4 separate regions of the Homo sapiens genome follow, and regions 2, 3 and 4 are each linked to region 1. The links are contacts of gene promoters, found by promoter capture Hi-C in blood cells and fetal thymus (Javierre and others, 2016). All regions are on one chromosome and are shown on one strand. Each heading gives the region's core, a stretch centred on a gene start or on the middle of the fragment in contact. The rest is flanking DNA. Distances are from core to core; before and after follow the strand shown.

Evidence for each region. The method cuts DNA at HindIII sites, captures the fragments that hold promoters and counts their contacts. A CHiCAGO score of 5 or more calls a contact.
Region 2: the fragment with the promoter of DYNC1H1 here is called in contact with the fragment with the promoter of YY1 in region 1 in 1 of 17 cell types (neutrophils); the score reaches 6.4 in neutrophils.
Region 3: a fragment that was not itself captured here is called in contact with the fragment with the promoter of YY1 in region 1 in 1 of 17 cell types (activated CD4 T cells); the score reaches 5.9 in activated CD4 T cells.
Region 4: a contact is called between a fragment that was not itself captured here and the fragment with the promoter of YY1 in region 1, in 1 of 17 cell types (neutrophils). The highest score is 5.0, in neutrophils.

Annotation. Positions count from the first base shown.
Region 1 is chr14:100,237,204-100,240,642 of GRCh38, forward strand. YY1 (YY1 transcription factor) reads left to right here and starts at 1,941. Exons shown (of 5, transcript NM_003403.5): 1 at 1,941-2,720. The coding sequence starts at 2,042. It overlaps YY1-DT (YY1 divergent transcript), which reads right to left and starts at 1,418. Exons shown (of 2, transcript NR_189150.1): 1 at 1,268-1,418. RefSeq lists enhancers at 1,003-1,855, 2,693-2,852 and silencers at 1,093-1,692, 1,753-1,832, 1,983-2,052, 2,543-2,592, 2,863-3,439. The HindIII fragment of the contact is 3,842 bases long and covers 1-3,439 here.
Region 2 is chr14:101,963,069-101,966,507 of GRCh38, forward strand. DYNC1H1 (dynein cytoplasmic 1 heavy chain 1) reads left to right here and starts at 1,505. Exons shown (of 78, transcript NM_001376.5): 1 at 1,505-1,879. The coding sequence starts at 1,624. RefSeq lists enhancers at 1,058-1,197, 1,242-1,852, 1,853-2,462 and silencers at 1,338-1,497, 1,988-2,197. The HindIII fragment of the contact is 2,903 bases long and covers 125-3,027 here.
Region 3 is chr14:101,832,249-101,835,687 of GRCh38, forward strand. The region is part of intron 3 of PPP2R5C (protein phosphatase 2 regulatory subunit B'gamma); the gene reads left to right. Among named protein-coding and RNA genes, the nearest start is that of PPP2R5C, 72 kb to the left of the region's middle. RefSeq lists an enhancer at 467-967. The HindIII fragment of the contact is 5,116 bases long and covers 1-3,439 here.
Region 4 is chr14:101,810,236-101,813,674 of GRCh38, forward strand. The region is part of intron 3 of PPP2R5C (protein phosphatase 2 regulatory subunit B'gamma); the gene reads left to right. It overlaps LOC124903388 (a long non-coding RNA gene), which reads right to left and starts at 755. Exons shown (of 2, transcript XR_007064349.1): 1 at 1-755. RefSeq lists enhancers at 1-383, 1-54. The HindIII fragment of the contact is 2,427 bases long and covers 700-3,126 here.

The DNA.
Region 1 (3,439 bases), core at 691-3,190:
CAGAGTTTATAAGCTATAAAGCCAGAGATGACTTAATTCAACAGATTTGACTTTTCCAAACTGAGTGGGTGCAGTACTCCAAGGGGAATTATTCAGGTTTCAAAGCTCAGATTCAAAGAGAAAACGATCTAATTTGTCACTCCTTACACTAATATTCTCAAAAGTCAAGTCCAATGCGATTTAGCAATAAGAAGGGACTAGGATTTATAAAGTTGCCTTTTAATGAGAATGTATAGTCTACTTGTTTTAACAAGTTGAGCCTAAGATTAATGTATTGCGTACAGTTCAGAAAATCATGGGCCTCAACTGCATGAACACTATTACAAAACAGTAAATGTTGATAATATTTAAGTTGAACAAATTCACAGAGGCGTTAAATCGGCCAAACGAGTACAACAAAGACACACCTTTCCAACTCTTCAATTTGTCATAGTTTCCTTAAAAATCAGGAAATCTTTGTTTTGCTTTAAGGCAAATTGTCAGGTCGACCAAAAGGACAGATAAGAGCAGAAACACTTCGCTGCAATGTAACTCATTCAGGAAGGTTTAACTTGCCGCTAATCCGTGCCACAAAAAAAAATCTAGGCTCTGTTGCAGGTACAATGGAGGACACGGCTGAAAAAATTTGGAATTTTAAATGAGACAAATGCAAAACCTGGTGGGCGTAAAAAGGAGCACCTATGAAAGTGACAAATAGGGGGAAAGGGTGGGCAAGGGAAACAATGGCTGACTGGAGAGCAAAGAAGGGGAAGCTCAGGAGAAAATTTTAGAAAGCCGCCAGGACCCTGTAGTTCTAAGATCTACGGGGAAACAGGCACCCAACGGCTGCGTCTCAGGTTTCCGCGGGTCACTAAAGAATAACGGACATCCTCCCAACGGTGGCCCTGGGGCTCCGCGGGCGCTTCCGCCGAGCTCGCGCCGACCCCGCGCTCGGCCCCGCACCCCGCCGGGCGCTCGCGGCGAGATACCGGACGCTGCCCGCGTCGCCCGATTTTGTCCGTTCGGTCCTCCACACTCACCCCGCGGCCATCGCTCGCCCGAAGCCAGGCGACAAGAACAAACACCTCCCGACGCGAAAAAGGAAGCACAGGCGATTCTCGTCAAAGCAGACTTTATTGGGGCGACAGGGCCGCCCCGCACGCGCCAGCCGCTCCCCGCGCGGCCCCCGGGCCGCCCACCCGCCTCAACCCCGCTCCCGGCCGGCCCCTCCCTCCCTTCTCCTCAGGCTCCCGCCCCCGTGGTGCCCGGGGCCGCGCGGACCGCTCACCGGCTCCCAAGGCAGCGGCTGTAGCGGCGACGCCCCGTTCCCGAGTGCGGCCCCGGCCCGAGGCGGCGGGTTTTGTGGCTGTTGCACCGCGAAGGGCGGCAGCCGCGCGACACCGGGAAGCGGGAGGCGGTGGCGGCGGCGGCGGCGCGCTGACGTCACGCGCCGCGGGCCAGCCAGGGCGCGTGCGAGCCGCCCCGCCCCCGGTCCCATCGGCCCCAATCCGGGAGGAGCCCGGCGAGTGGGCGGGGCCGCGGAGGCCAGCGGACAGATCGATTGGCCGAGAGGAGAATCGAGAGGGCGAACGGGCGAGTGGCAGCGAGGCGGGGCGGGCTGAGGCCAGCGCGGAAGTCTCGCGAGGCCGGGCCCGAGCAGAGTGTGGCGGCGGCGGCGAGATCTGGGCTCGGGTTGAGGAGTTGGTATTTGTGTGGAAGGAGGCGGAGGCGCAGGAGGAAGGGGGAAGCGGAGCGCCGGCCCGGAGGGCGGGAGGAGGCGCGGCCAGGGCGGGCGGTTGCGGCGAGGCGAGGCGAGGCGGGGAGCCGAGACGAGCAGCGGCCGAGCGAGCGCGGGCGCGGGCGCACCGAGGCGAGGGAGGCGGGGAAGCCCCGCCGCCGCCGCGGCGCCCGCCCCTTCCCCCGCCGCCCGCCCCCTCTCCCCCCGCCCGCTCGCCGCCTTCCTCCCTCTGCCTTCCTTCCCCACGGCCGGCCGCCTCCTCGCCCGCCCGCCCGCAGCCGAGGAGCCGAGGCCGCCGCGGCCGTGGCGGCGGAGCCCTCAGCCATGGCCTCGGGCGACACCCTCTACATCGCCACGGACGGCTCGGAGATGCCGGCCGAGATCGTGGAGCTGCACGAGATCGAGGTGGAGACCATCCCGGTGGAGACCATCGAGACCACAGTGGTGGGCGAGGAGGAGGAGGAGGACGACGACGACGAGGACGGCGGCGGTGGCGACCACGGCGGCGGGGGCGGCCACGGGCACGCCGGCCACCACCACCACCACCATCACCACCACCACCACCCGCCCATGATCGCTCTGCAGCCGCTGGTCACCGACGACCCGACCCAGGTGCACCACCACCAGGAGGTGATCCTGGTGCAGACGCGCGAGGAGGTGGTGGGCGGCGACGACTCGGACGGGCTGCGCGCCGAGGACGGCTTCGAGGATCAGATTCTCATCCCGGTGCCCGCGCCGGCCGGCGGCGACGACGACTACATTGAACAAACGCTGGTCACCGTGGCGGCGGCCGGCAAGAGCGGCGGCGGCGGCTCGTCGTCGTCGGGAGGCGGCCGCGTCAAGAAGGGCGGCGGCAAGAAGAGCGGCAAGAAGAGTTACCTCAGCGGCGGGGCCGGCGCGGCGGGCGGCGGCGGCGCCGACCCGGGCAACAAGAAGTGGGAGCAGAAGCAGGTGCAGATCAAGACCCTGGAGGGCGAGTTCTCGGTCACCATGTGGTCCTCAGGTGAGCGCCGGCCGCGCGCCCCGGCCCCGGGATGTTTTTGTTTTGAAGGGAAGCCATGTTTTATGTGTGTGATGGGCGCCGCCATCTTCTTCGCCAGGGCAAGTATGGCGGCCCCAAAAGATGGCGGGCCGTGCGGCGGCGGGGGCGCGGCGGCGGCGGCGGGCGGCGGGCCGCGAAGATGGCGGCAGGCCGCGGGGGGGAGGGGCCGGCGCCGCCCGGCTAGGCCGCAATGGCGTAGTTTCTCCGAGAGGGGGAAGCGCCGCGCGGGGCGGAGACGGCCGGGGGAGGGGCCGGCGCGCTCGCTCCCCGACGCCCTCGCTCCCCGCGCCCGCATCAACGGGCGCGCCCGCCGGCCCGTTGTGGCGGCAGCTGCGCGCCCCCGGCCCGGGCGGGACGCGGGAGGTCGTTGGCGGGGCTGCGCCGCGGCCTCGCGGGCCAGGGATTGCTGCCTCCGGGACGCGCGCCCCCGCCCCCGCCCGGCGCTGCCGTTACCCCATCGGCCGCTGGAGGGCGCCGCGGGCGCTTGCCCCGCCCGCCCCCAACTTCCCCGGACTCCCAACTGCTCCCCGGTGGCACCTTCCAGAAGGAGGGGGCTTGGCACTCGTGGGCGCCCTCCGGCCTCCTTGCTCCCCGCCCACCCAGCGCCGGGCTGGACCCTGCCCCGGCGGTCACGCTCGCCCAAGTCGTCGTTTGCTGCGGGGCGGGACTTGGGGCTGCAC
Region 2 (3,439 bases), core at 255-2,754, 1.7 Mb after region 1:
CAGGAAGATGGGGTATTCATCTGTCCCCTCTTCCACATGCTCCTTAAAGACAAGAATCATCTGATTAGTCTCCGTGTTCCAGCAACCCCCTGGGACCCAGCAACCGGTAATTAGGCAAGGAATAAGCTTATTGTATGTTTCACAGTTTTTCAAAGATGATTTGGGAGAATCAAATCATACCATCATCATTCCACCAATCAGGACTCGGCACTCTGACAGTGCACTTTGATGTTTAAAAAAAACAAAAAAACCAAAAAAAAAAAAAACGCCATTGGCTTCCCTCTCTCCACCCAACTTAAGAAAGAAGTTATGAATGTGAACTTTCAAAGGCCAATTACTACCCCTTAGAAGAACCTACCATCTCTAAACTACAAAGATGGGCAGCCTGGATTCTATTATTTTTATTATTTTACAAAATTCTTAATTTTTAAATACACATAGATATAGGGTCTCGCTAGGTTGACCAGGCTGGTCTTGGAACTTCTGGCCTCAAGCAATCCTCCCATCTCAGCCTCTCAAAATGCTAGGATTACAGGTGTGAGCCACCGCACCCAGCTGGGCAGCCTGGATTCTGGCTCTTATGTAGTCATGGTGTAGGGGAGGAGGTCGTGGTGGGTCCGAACTAGGGGGAAACTTGGTGGGCAGGCAACCCAGCCCCTGCCTTGTACGGACCCAGATACTGAGGCCCACAGAATGACAGTGCCAGCTCTAGGGGGCTGGAGGAGAGCCATTGCTGGAGGTAGCTGTTCTCAGTAGGTCTCCCTCTTGGTCCTCACAGCGTCCTCGGGGACAATGATTTTTGTCATTAGGAACCAGATCCCATCACAGCTTGGCTTTACGTACAGTGAAGGTGTCATTCCTGGCTTAACCTTACACTGCCCCGAAGGCCCCCTCCCCAGCTGTCCGTTTCCAGCCTGGCAATGGGACTCTCTGAGCACGCCCCTCATCTCCTCCCCCTCTGAAAAGTATCCTCAATCTCCCGGTCTATATCTAATAACACATCTGTCGTGCCTATATTTTGGTACCTGATACGTAGTCATTCATTCATTCAATGAGAGAACATTTAATGAGAGGTTAAGGGGCTTAGAACAACGCCGGGCACAGGCTAAGCGCTCACTAAACGTTAGCTCTCGCCAATAACATCACTGATTCACTATAAAGTTTCTCTGGCTGTGTGCTATTCGCTGCGTCCACAGCAGTGAAGAAGACAGACGCAGCCCCTGACCAACCTCGCCAAGCCCGGGCGCCGAGCCAGGACGTTGAGCCAAGTCCCCATCTCCTAGGACTCGCAGTGCGGAGGCTGCGGGCCCCGACCAGCGCCGAGACTACAAGTCCCAGAAGGGCGCGCGGCGACATCGCCGGGCCCGCCCCCCGCGCACGCGCGGCGCCGTGACGCTAAGGCCGCGAGCGAGCGCGGGTGGCTGCGGCGGCTGCGGCCGGCGGGGCGGGGCGGGGCCACCTGGCAGTGGCTGCCTTTAGGGCGGAGCCGGCTCCCGCTCTCCTCAGTCTGCGGTGGGCTAGCGGACGGTCCGGCTTCCGGCGGCCGTTTCTGTCTCTTGCTGGCTGTCTCGCTGAGTCGCGGCCGCCTTCTCATCGCTCCTGGAAGGTCCCGAGCGCGACACCATGTCGGAGCCCGGGGGCGGCGGCGGCGAGGACGGCTCGGCCGGATTGGAAGTGTCGGCCGTGCAGAATGTGGCGGACGTGTCGGTGCTGCAGAAGCACCTGCGCAAGCTGGTGCCGCTGCTGCTGGAGGACGGCGGCGAGGCGCCGGCCGCGCTGGAGGCGGCGCTGGAGGAGAAGAGCGCCCTGGAGCAGATGCGCAAGTTCCTTTCGGACCCGCAGGTCCACACGGTGCTGGTGGAGCGCTCCACGCTCAAAGGTGCGGGGCCGCGGAGGGCAGGGTCGCCAGAGCCAGGCCTCGCGGAATGCAGGGCCTGCCAGGTCCTCCGGGGTCGCAGATGTCCCCGGGATGGGAGGAGCCCGGCAGCTGCAGATGACCCCTGGATGGGCAGAGCCCGGCGGCCGCAGACGTCCCGCCGGCCGGGTCCCCAGGGCCGCAGACGCCCCGCAGAGGCCGGCGCGGCGCCCGGGGCTCGCCCTCGCCACACCCACTGCCCGGCCCGGAGCCCCCAGGGCGCCCCGCTCCTGGTCGCGGGGAGGGGAAAGGGGTCCCCGTCTGCCGTCACCCAAAACAATGGGGTCGCTTTGTCTGCTCGGGCCTCTCAAGATGGCCGAGTTGGGTGGAGACAGCGTCTCCCTGGGCTGAGAGCGGGCGAGGCCGCATCCCTGCCTCCAGTGTCACATGAGCTTTTCGGTTTCGATTTGTGTCCAAGCCAAGTGGCCTTCGGGAGGGATGTGTCGGGGGCAGACCCGCGGAGCTGGGGGCAGCCGGGGTTCTGGTTCGGGAGGAGGTCGGGCGGGTGTCCCAGCCCTGCCTTGTGGGGACCCAGAGGCCGAGGCCCACAGAGCGACGGTGCCAGCCCCGGGCCTGCGAGCATCACTGTTGTAGGTGGATGCTCTCACAGCATCCTTGCTGAACGGGTGTATCCTGATTTTACACCTGAGGAAACTGAGGCTCAGGTTAAGTGATTTCACCCAAGGTCACCAGCTAATCTTAGTCCTGAGACTAGACTCAGTGTCTCAGCTCCCCATCCACTGCTTGTTTTCACTGATCATACCTCATATTTGTTTAATGCTTCGATGATGTTAATGATAACCCTGTAATATTTGAGTCTAATTTTACAGATTAAAAAAAAAAAAAAAGATTCAGGTTAGGCACCTAGTAGGGGGAAGAGGCTAGAGTTAGCGTGTTCCAGCTGTCTCCTCAAATAATGATCGCCCACCAGCAAGGTTACATTCATCTAAGTCTGGGGCTTGCCTGCAGGCAGGCTTTCTCATGGATTCATTACAACCACTTTGTAGCCCATTACAACCACTTTGGGTGTGGCGTGTCCATCTAAGAACCTAAGGATGATGTCCAAGGTTAGCCTCTAGGGATTGGAGATTGTCTAAAAATATTTGCCAACAAGCTTCTTAAAATTTCAAAAAACTGTATGGTTCTCTCAGTGAGAGACCCTGTACTGTCTGCCCCATCCTTAACACACACTGTGTTTCTGATGGTTTGTTTCTTTCAAAGGCTATTCTTACTCAGAAGATGCTTCCCTGTAGCCTTGGTTTCCTGCCAGAGATTAGCAGGGTGTAAAAGAATATTTTTTTCTTATATCCACGTGGAATGTTCAAGGCAAATAAACCATTTGAGCATATTTAGAGTATTAATGTTTTTGAGGGTTGTTTACTGTGATGTTTGGGATTATGTATTCCTAAGTGGAAGCCACAAAAGTTAAAAAAAAAAAATTTATCTACTCTTTTTTTTTTCCAAAAAACATATAGTCATTGTAGAAAATGTACTATACAGCTAAAGTAAAAATCACTGGGAATT
Region 3 (3,439 bases), core at 555-3,054, 1.6 Mb after region 1:
ATAGCCCAGGATTCCTCCAAGTGTGGCAAGTGCACACCACTGCTAACGGCAGTTATTTTAAGTGATTCAGAGTTGAGTATTATTTTACTTTAATAATTATATATTGATGAATGTGAAAATATATAATTAGCACATCAAATCCATGGTTTCTTGGGTTATTATTGCTTAGGACAGGGCTTAGTAAAAAGTGTATCCATTTAAAGCAAAATACCAAGTAAATAAGAGCCTGACTGTACACAGATTTGTGACGATCTTGAAGGTGTTCATGCAGGACTGAAGTACGGGAAACCCCAGGGTGGGCGACTCTGGGTTCCACCTGGGGAATCTGTTCCGAAGACACCTTCCCATCTCTTTCTTGGGTTACAAGCAGTGGAGACACACTTGGGCTTGCATAGATGAAGACAAGTGTTTTTAAGGCACAGTCACAGAGGGACTCCACACAGAGGAGCAGGGTGGAGCGGGACTGTGGAGGCAGAAGGGTCCAGACTCCAGCAGCGTGAGTGACCCCTCTGTGTCCTCATCCACCCCGCCACTCCCAGTCTTTGCGTGTCATGCCCCTTCTTCCCCGCGCTTTACCGTGTAATTTCTCTGCATGCTCTTCTGCATTTACTCAGTAACATAATACAGTTAGCAGTTGTGGGACCTCCAGCAAGTATTGAACTGTTGAGTGGCTGTTCTTCATTTGGAAAATGGGAGTGATAACAGTTTCTCTCTCACAGGACAGTTGTGGATAGTCAGGGAGGTTGCAGTGTGAACACTAGGCACAGCATCTGAAACGTGCTGGAATCAGTCATGTCCACACTGGCAGTGATTAGATCTGCCTGATTCTTCCCATGTTCCGTCTAGTGAGAAGTCGTCAGTAGCTTCAGTTTTCAGGAGGAAAACTTTGACTTGGTCAAAACTTTGTCCTTGATCAAGTTGTTTACTCTCACGCCAAGCCGCCCTGGAGTGTGGTCCAGGAAAAACATGGGCGCCTAGGTCCGCCCCTCGGCCAGCCGTGGCCAGAGGTCACTGGTGCTGCTGTTCACATGGCCGGTGTCAGGGTTTTAATTCGAGGTGGAGCTTCCCAGCCGTTCTGGTAATGAGGAGTCTTGCCTGATATGTCTTGGCCAGCTCTGATTGGTCAAATGTTTGAAGAAGATAGGGTTACCAAAGATTCCTAGACTCTCCAAGTTTGGCAGAAGTTGTTAGAGGATCACACAGTTACCTAAAATGATTGGTTTAATTATATGGTTTGATCATTCTTCAGAAACCACCACCTTGGGTAAACCATTGTTCTTAATTTTCCCTTCATTTTTTGCTCTCATTGTCTGGCCCCAAAGACACACCCCCTTGCGATTTTGTAAAGGATGCATTTCATTGAGAGGACACAGTATGAGGGAGCAGCACATGGACCTAAACTTGACTTCCACCACCCCCAGCCAGATGAATTGCTGAGTCAGTTCACTGTTCCAAAACTGTTTTCTCAAGGCATTATGGTAACAGGCCATGTGAAATTCCCTAACATGACTAGGGGTTTTCACTTCCCAGCTTTATTCAATCCAAGGGTTTTTTTGGCATTTTTTGTTTTTAAGACGGAGTCTCGCTCTGTCACCCAGGCTGGAGTGCAGTGGCGCGATCTCAGCTCACTGCAACCTCTGCCTCCAGGGTTCAAGTGATTCTCCTGCCACAGCCTCCCATGTAGCTGGGATTACAGGCACCCGCCACCTGCCACCACGCTCGGCTAATTTTTGTATTTTTGTAGAGATGGGGTTTCACCGTGTTGGCCAGGCTGGTCTCAAAACTCCTGACCTCAAGTGATCCACCTGCCTCAGCCTCCCAAAGTGCTGGGATTACAAGCGTCAGCCACCACACCCGGCCTGAATCAGTTTTGACATTGTCTCTTCCTCTGGGTGGCAAATGTGATCCATTCAAGACAGATTATATCCCATGTGAAGAGTCACCCTGAGAATTTGAGCAGGGTGTGCTGTGTGGTTACTTGGACTCCAGACCCTTGTCTGCAGAACTGGTGGGACCTTGACTGGGTCCGGTTCTCCTGTCTGCACATGCAGGCCATGGAGGTGCTGAGGTTGCAGCAGTGACGGCAGCACTGAGGGTCAGCTTCAGGGGGACCCTCTTCAAGCCAAACAAAAAGTCTTCTCAAAAAATGGAACTAAAGATGGTCCCTTGATGTGGCGTCTCAGTACGGCTGCTGAGGTATCTCACAAGGCCACCAGCAAGTTAATCTAAGGAGGCATTTTCCTCTTGTGATCAGGCAGCTGTTCCAGCAGAAATGGCTCAAGGAGAAATTCTCCTCCCAGATTCAGTGTCTGGTGGGTGAAACTTCACTGGTGCGTTGCCAGCCCTGGCCTCCAAATCTCTTTAAATTATGAGGTCATAGAATGCATGCTTAAAGCCCCAGGCCTGTCAAGTCGCTTGGGGACATTCATACTGAGGATTTATTAAGATATTAATTTGGTTATCAGGAGTCTGGATGGGGATGAGAGGAGGGGATCTTTATTACATGCTGGGAAAATCAGAAATCAACTCTAATTGACTACCTCTACTCTTTCCTCTCCCAAGATGACTTTGCCAAAAAGCTGTGAGAAAAAGTCCTCAAATCTCAGAGATTGACTTGGTACTTGATTATATCCAGCTCGCTGGTGGGCCTGTGGCCACAGAGCCTCAGAAGAAGGTTAGAAGGTCTGGCCAGACTTTAGCTTTGCTCCACCTACTTGGCAGGGTCAAGCCTACTTGCCAGTGGCTTGGAGAAGTGTTTTGTTTTGTTTTGTTTACTTTTTAGGAGTGTATTCAAAGCACATTCACAGTAAGGAAAAAAAAAATGCAGCCTGTGTCTTCAGGGACTGGGAGTCTCTGATTCCAGCACAGCCGACTGTCCAGCAACCCCAGAATTGGTAGGCTGGACACTGGGCTGCTCCTCATGGCGGTGGGAGCATGGGCTGCTCAGCTGGGGCCATCCAAGGAAGCAAAGATGTGGTGCTGTCCTGTGGCTGGGGGAGCAGGATGAATTGGGATAAGGGAAGCCCAGGGCAGGGTGTTGGCACAGAGCTGGGAGGTGCATTACACCGAGGAACTGACGTGGCCTAAACTCCACAGTGACTTCCACCTGGGATCACAGTTTACAGTCAGCTGAGTGCTCAAGAGAACTCAGTAGAGGGGAATGTTGATGATTCAGGTATTTGGTTGGTGATCATGTTATCAAGTCAGACTTGCAGTTAAGGTAGTGTCCCAGACGTTTGTTCAGAGGGCTCCTTCCCACTTGTCATCTGTAATACTGGCTAATGGGAAACCTGGCCCATGTCAAATTTGTATTAGGAACCATTGATTTCAATTCACGGGCTTTTTCCATTGAGGAATTTAAAGGTCTTAGAAGTAATATTCTTGTTAAGGCATCTGAGGTCTCCCGGGGGACAGACACAGTCTTCATCTTGAGCAGGAA
Region 4 (3,439 bases), core at 663-3,162, 1.6 Mb after region 1:
AGGCCTTGCATGCATAGTTCAAAGCTGGTTTTTCTGCTTTCTGCTCGCTCTCCCATCCCCCTTTCAAAGCTGTGCTGATGTCAAAGGATGTGAAGTCACTGCCCAGGGAAGGTATTGGGTGGGGGTAGGAAGGAGAGGCGGGCCTGTCGCGCCTGGCCAAGTTGTTCGTACGCAGAGTTTCTGTTACATATGTGTGGCTTAATGCTGCAAAGGTTTTGTCGAGGACACATCTCAGAATTAAAGATGAATTGCAGTCAGAAAATATGCACAATTGATTGGAAAAGAACTTCCTTTAAAAGGATTGTTTTCATTCTTGCCGTGGAGCCTGAGAGAGAAATATGCTCCACTTTGAAATATTGAAATCTATCGTGGGTCATCATTTTTGAAATGTTAGCGTTTTCGTGGAATATTAGGAAATATTTTGCATTTAAATAGGCTCTGTGTTGCCAGTTGGCTTTTAAAATTTTAAATGGCAACAAGTTTTCAAGGTATATAGAGATCACTGTTTTAATAATTAGTTTGCTTCTTTTTATGCATATTTTGGTTTCAAAACTTAGCCTAAAAGCACAACTACTCTAGTAATTAATAGCGGTTATATTGAACTACAGGCATCAGGGTAGTAGCCTACTTATTCTTGGTATTTTAAGATATATGAATTTTTTTTTGGTCATAATTGGGTGAAATAGAAAAATGATTTTAAGCTTCATCAGATCACTTTAGAATTTATAGTATCAGAGCTGTGCCCCAACAAAACTGTTTCTCAGAATCTCTTTTAAGGAAGGGTGGGAGCAAGATTTCTAGGTGACTAATAATCTCTATGACTAAAACGCCAGGCCAGACTTTTCAGATCCTAGGGTGTACCCAGGCACATGCAGACTCAATCTACTGGAATAAAATGGGTGGTGCTTTTCTCTCCAAACTATCTTTCATGAAGGTGGAAATCAGCATTCAATGACCAAATTGTAGGACAGGCTGTGAATTTATTGTTTTTGTAGTGCACCCAGTAAAAAGCAAAGGTTGCCTACAGGTAACATTCAGGTATTTTAGCTGCAAGAACCAAATGGGCAAGAACAAAATGTAATTGTTTGGATTTAAGTTAGATAGCTTTTGTTTGTTTTTTGGGAGACAGGGTCTCACTCTTGTCACCCAGGCTGGAGTACAGTGGTATGATCACAGCTCACTGCAGCCTCCACCTCCCGAGCTCAGGTGATTCTCCCACCTCAGTTTCTTGAGTAGCTGAGACTTCAGGCACGCACCACCATGCCCAGCTAATTTTTTAATATTTTTTGTAGAGATGGGGTTTTGCCATGTTGCCCTGGTTGGTCTTGAACTCCTGGGCTCAAGCGATCCTCCCACCTCCGCCTCCCAAAGTGCTAAGATTACAGGTAAGAGCCACTGTACCTGGCCAAGTTAGTTCTTAAAAACGAACTAGTTAGCAGTAAGATAAATTAACTGCATATAAAATGTAAATTTTTATACTTTTAAGGTATCCACTTATAAATAACATAAATCTTTTTGGTTTGTGTTTTCTGGTTTTTATTAGATGCCTAATATACTACTCAGTTTTTGAATTATGAACTTATTCTGAAATAGAATCATTTCACGTTGTGTCTTGAACCACATTGATTTTTTTTTTAAAATTCCAAGACCTTATTATGGCCAGTTTGTATTTGTTGCTGTTGGTTGGGTGGTTGGTTGCTTGCTGTATAATTGTGGAGGGAAAAAGCAGTGAAGTGTATTAGCCTGAAAGAGACTTGAGTTTTTAAGAAGGGATAACTTTGGAGACCTAAGACTAACTTCTGACTCAAACAGTGGGGGTAATTTCTAACTTCAAAATTTGAAGAACGCTTGATTTACTCATAAAGACTTTTCTGGAGCGAGCATGTTAATGTGAGATTTAGCAAAATTTGATTTATTTATTGGGCCTTAGAGTCTTAGCTTAACATCCATTGAGCAGCTCCGGTGTGCCAAGTGCTGAGCGTCATTACAGTGATTAAGTTGCAGCCCCTGTCCCAAAGGAGCGAATGGAGAGACCCAGCATAGGAGCTCTGCCACGAGAGGGCTAAAGCAAGAACACACCGGCAGGGTGCCCGGGAGAGCAGGGGCTGGTGTCAGGAGCAGAAGGAACCAAGGAGGGCTGCACCCTGGGCTACCCTGCTCACTCGGATGGGGTGGGCATGCGCTGTCCTTCCCGTTTATTTAGGAAGGAGGGGTCTTTCCCACTGAAGGAGAAATAACTTACCCAAGGTCACACAGCCTGGAAGTGGTGGAGCCAGAATCCAAACCCAGACTGTTGTGTTGTTTTGTTTTGGATCTTTTTAAAAAAATCATTTTAAAATAGGAATGTTGGCTGCTTGAAGAACATTTTGCTACAGGATTACAGTAGTGGTATTTTCCCCAATGCCTTACCATTTATTTGGCTCGGTAGCCTCTTTTTGTATAACAGTTTTGTACCTTGGGCTCATTTATTAATCATTTTACAAATATTTATTGATCCATACCACATGCCAGGCAGGGTTCTAATGTGGATATGAGCAGGGGCTATGGCCCAGCTTTCCCAGTTTACCATCCATCAGGGTGGGGACCAAGTAAGTAAGTAAGGAAAATGATCACCTGATTTGTTGTCACGATCGCTTTGACCATTATTGTCTACCAAGTAGTCTGGACTTTGCGATTAAAATGGTGAATTTGCACATCCTAATAAGTTTGAGTGTGAAAGGGACATATTTTTGAGAGTTAGTGTAAGCCCTTCTGTCTGTAGAAGGAGAGTCACCTGGAACTTGATGGCTGTGAATGTAGCTTGGTGACATAAATCCTCACTCTCAGCTGTGTCCAGGAGAACTGTCTGCTGTGGTGGAAATGTTCTGTGCTGTCCTCTGCAGCAGCCCCTGGTCACCTGCGACTGCTGAGCACTTAACATATACAGCTGAGAAAGTGAATTTTTAACTGTAGTTATTGTAAATTTAAGTGGACACACCTGTCTTGTGGCTAGGATATTGGACAGCACAGTCGTAGACTGGAATTGTTCGACTTTTTTGGAAAAGGACCAGATTGTAAGTAGCTTTGGCTTTGTGGGTGAAAGCAGCCATAGACAGTAAATGAATAGGCATAACTGTGGTCCAATAAAGCTTTATTGACAAACAGGTGACAGGCTGGATTTGGCCCATGGACCATAGTTCACCAACTCTGTTCTAGACTGTTCTTTGACTTTCGGAATTGCCTGTTAAGGATAGGAAAGCATGTTTCCTGCAGGCCTTCAGTCTAGTGCCTCCTCCCTGTGCTGGGAAGCTGGGCCAGCCGTGATGCTGTGAGGCGTGGTGGGTGGGCCCACTTCCCACCCTGCAGCGCATGCTCACTTCAGGAGCCAGGTTTAAGGCAGTGACAGCCAAGCCGGAAAGATGGTAATGGCCAGAGAGGAAGCACACAGTTTGAGCCTTTT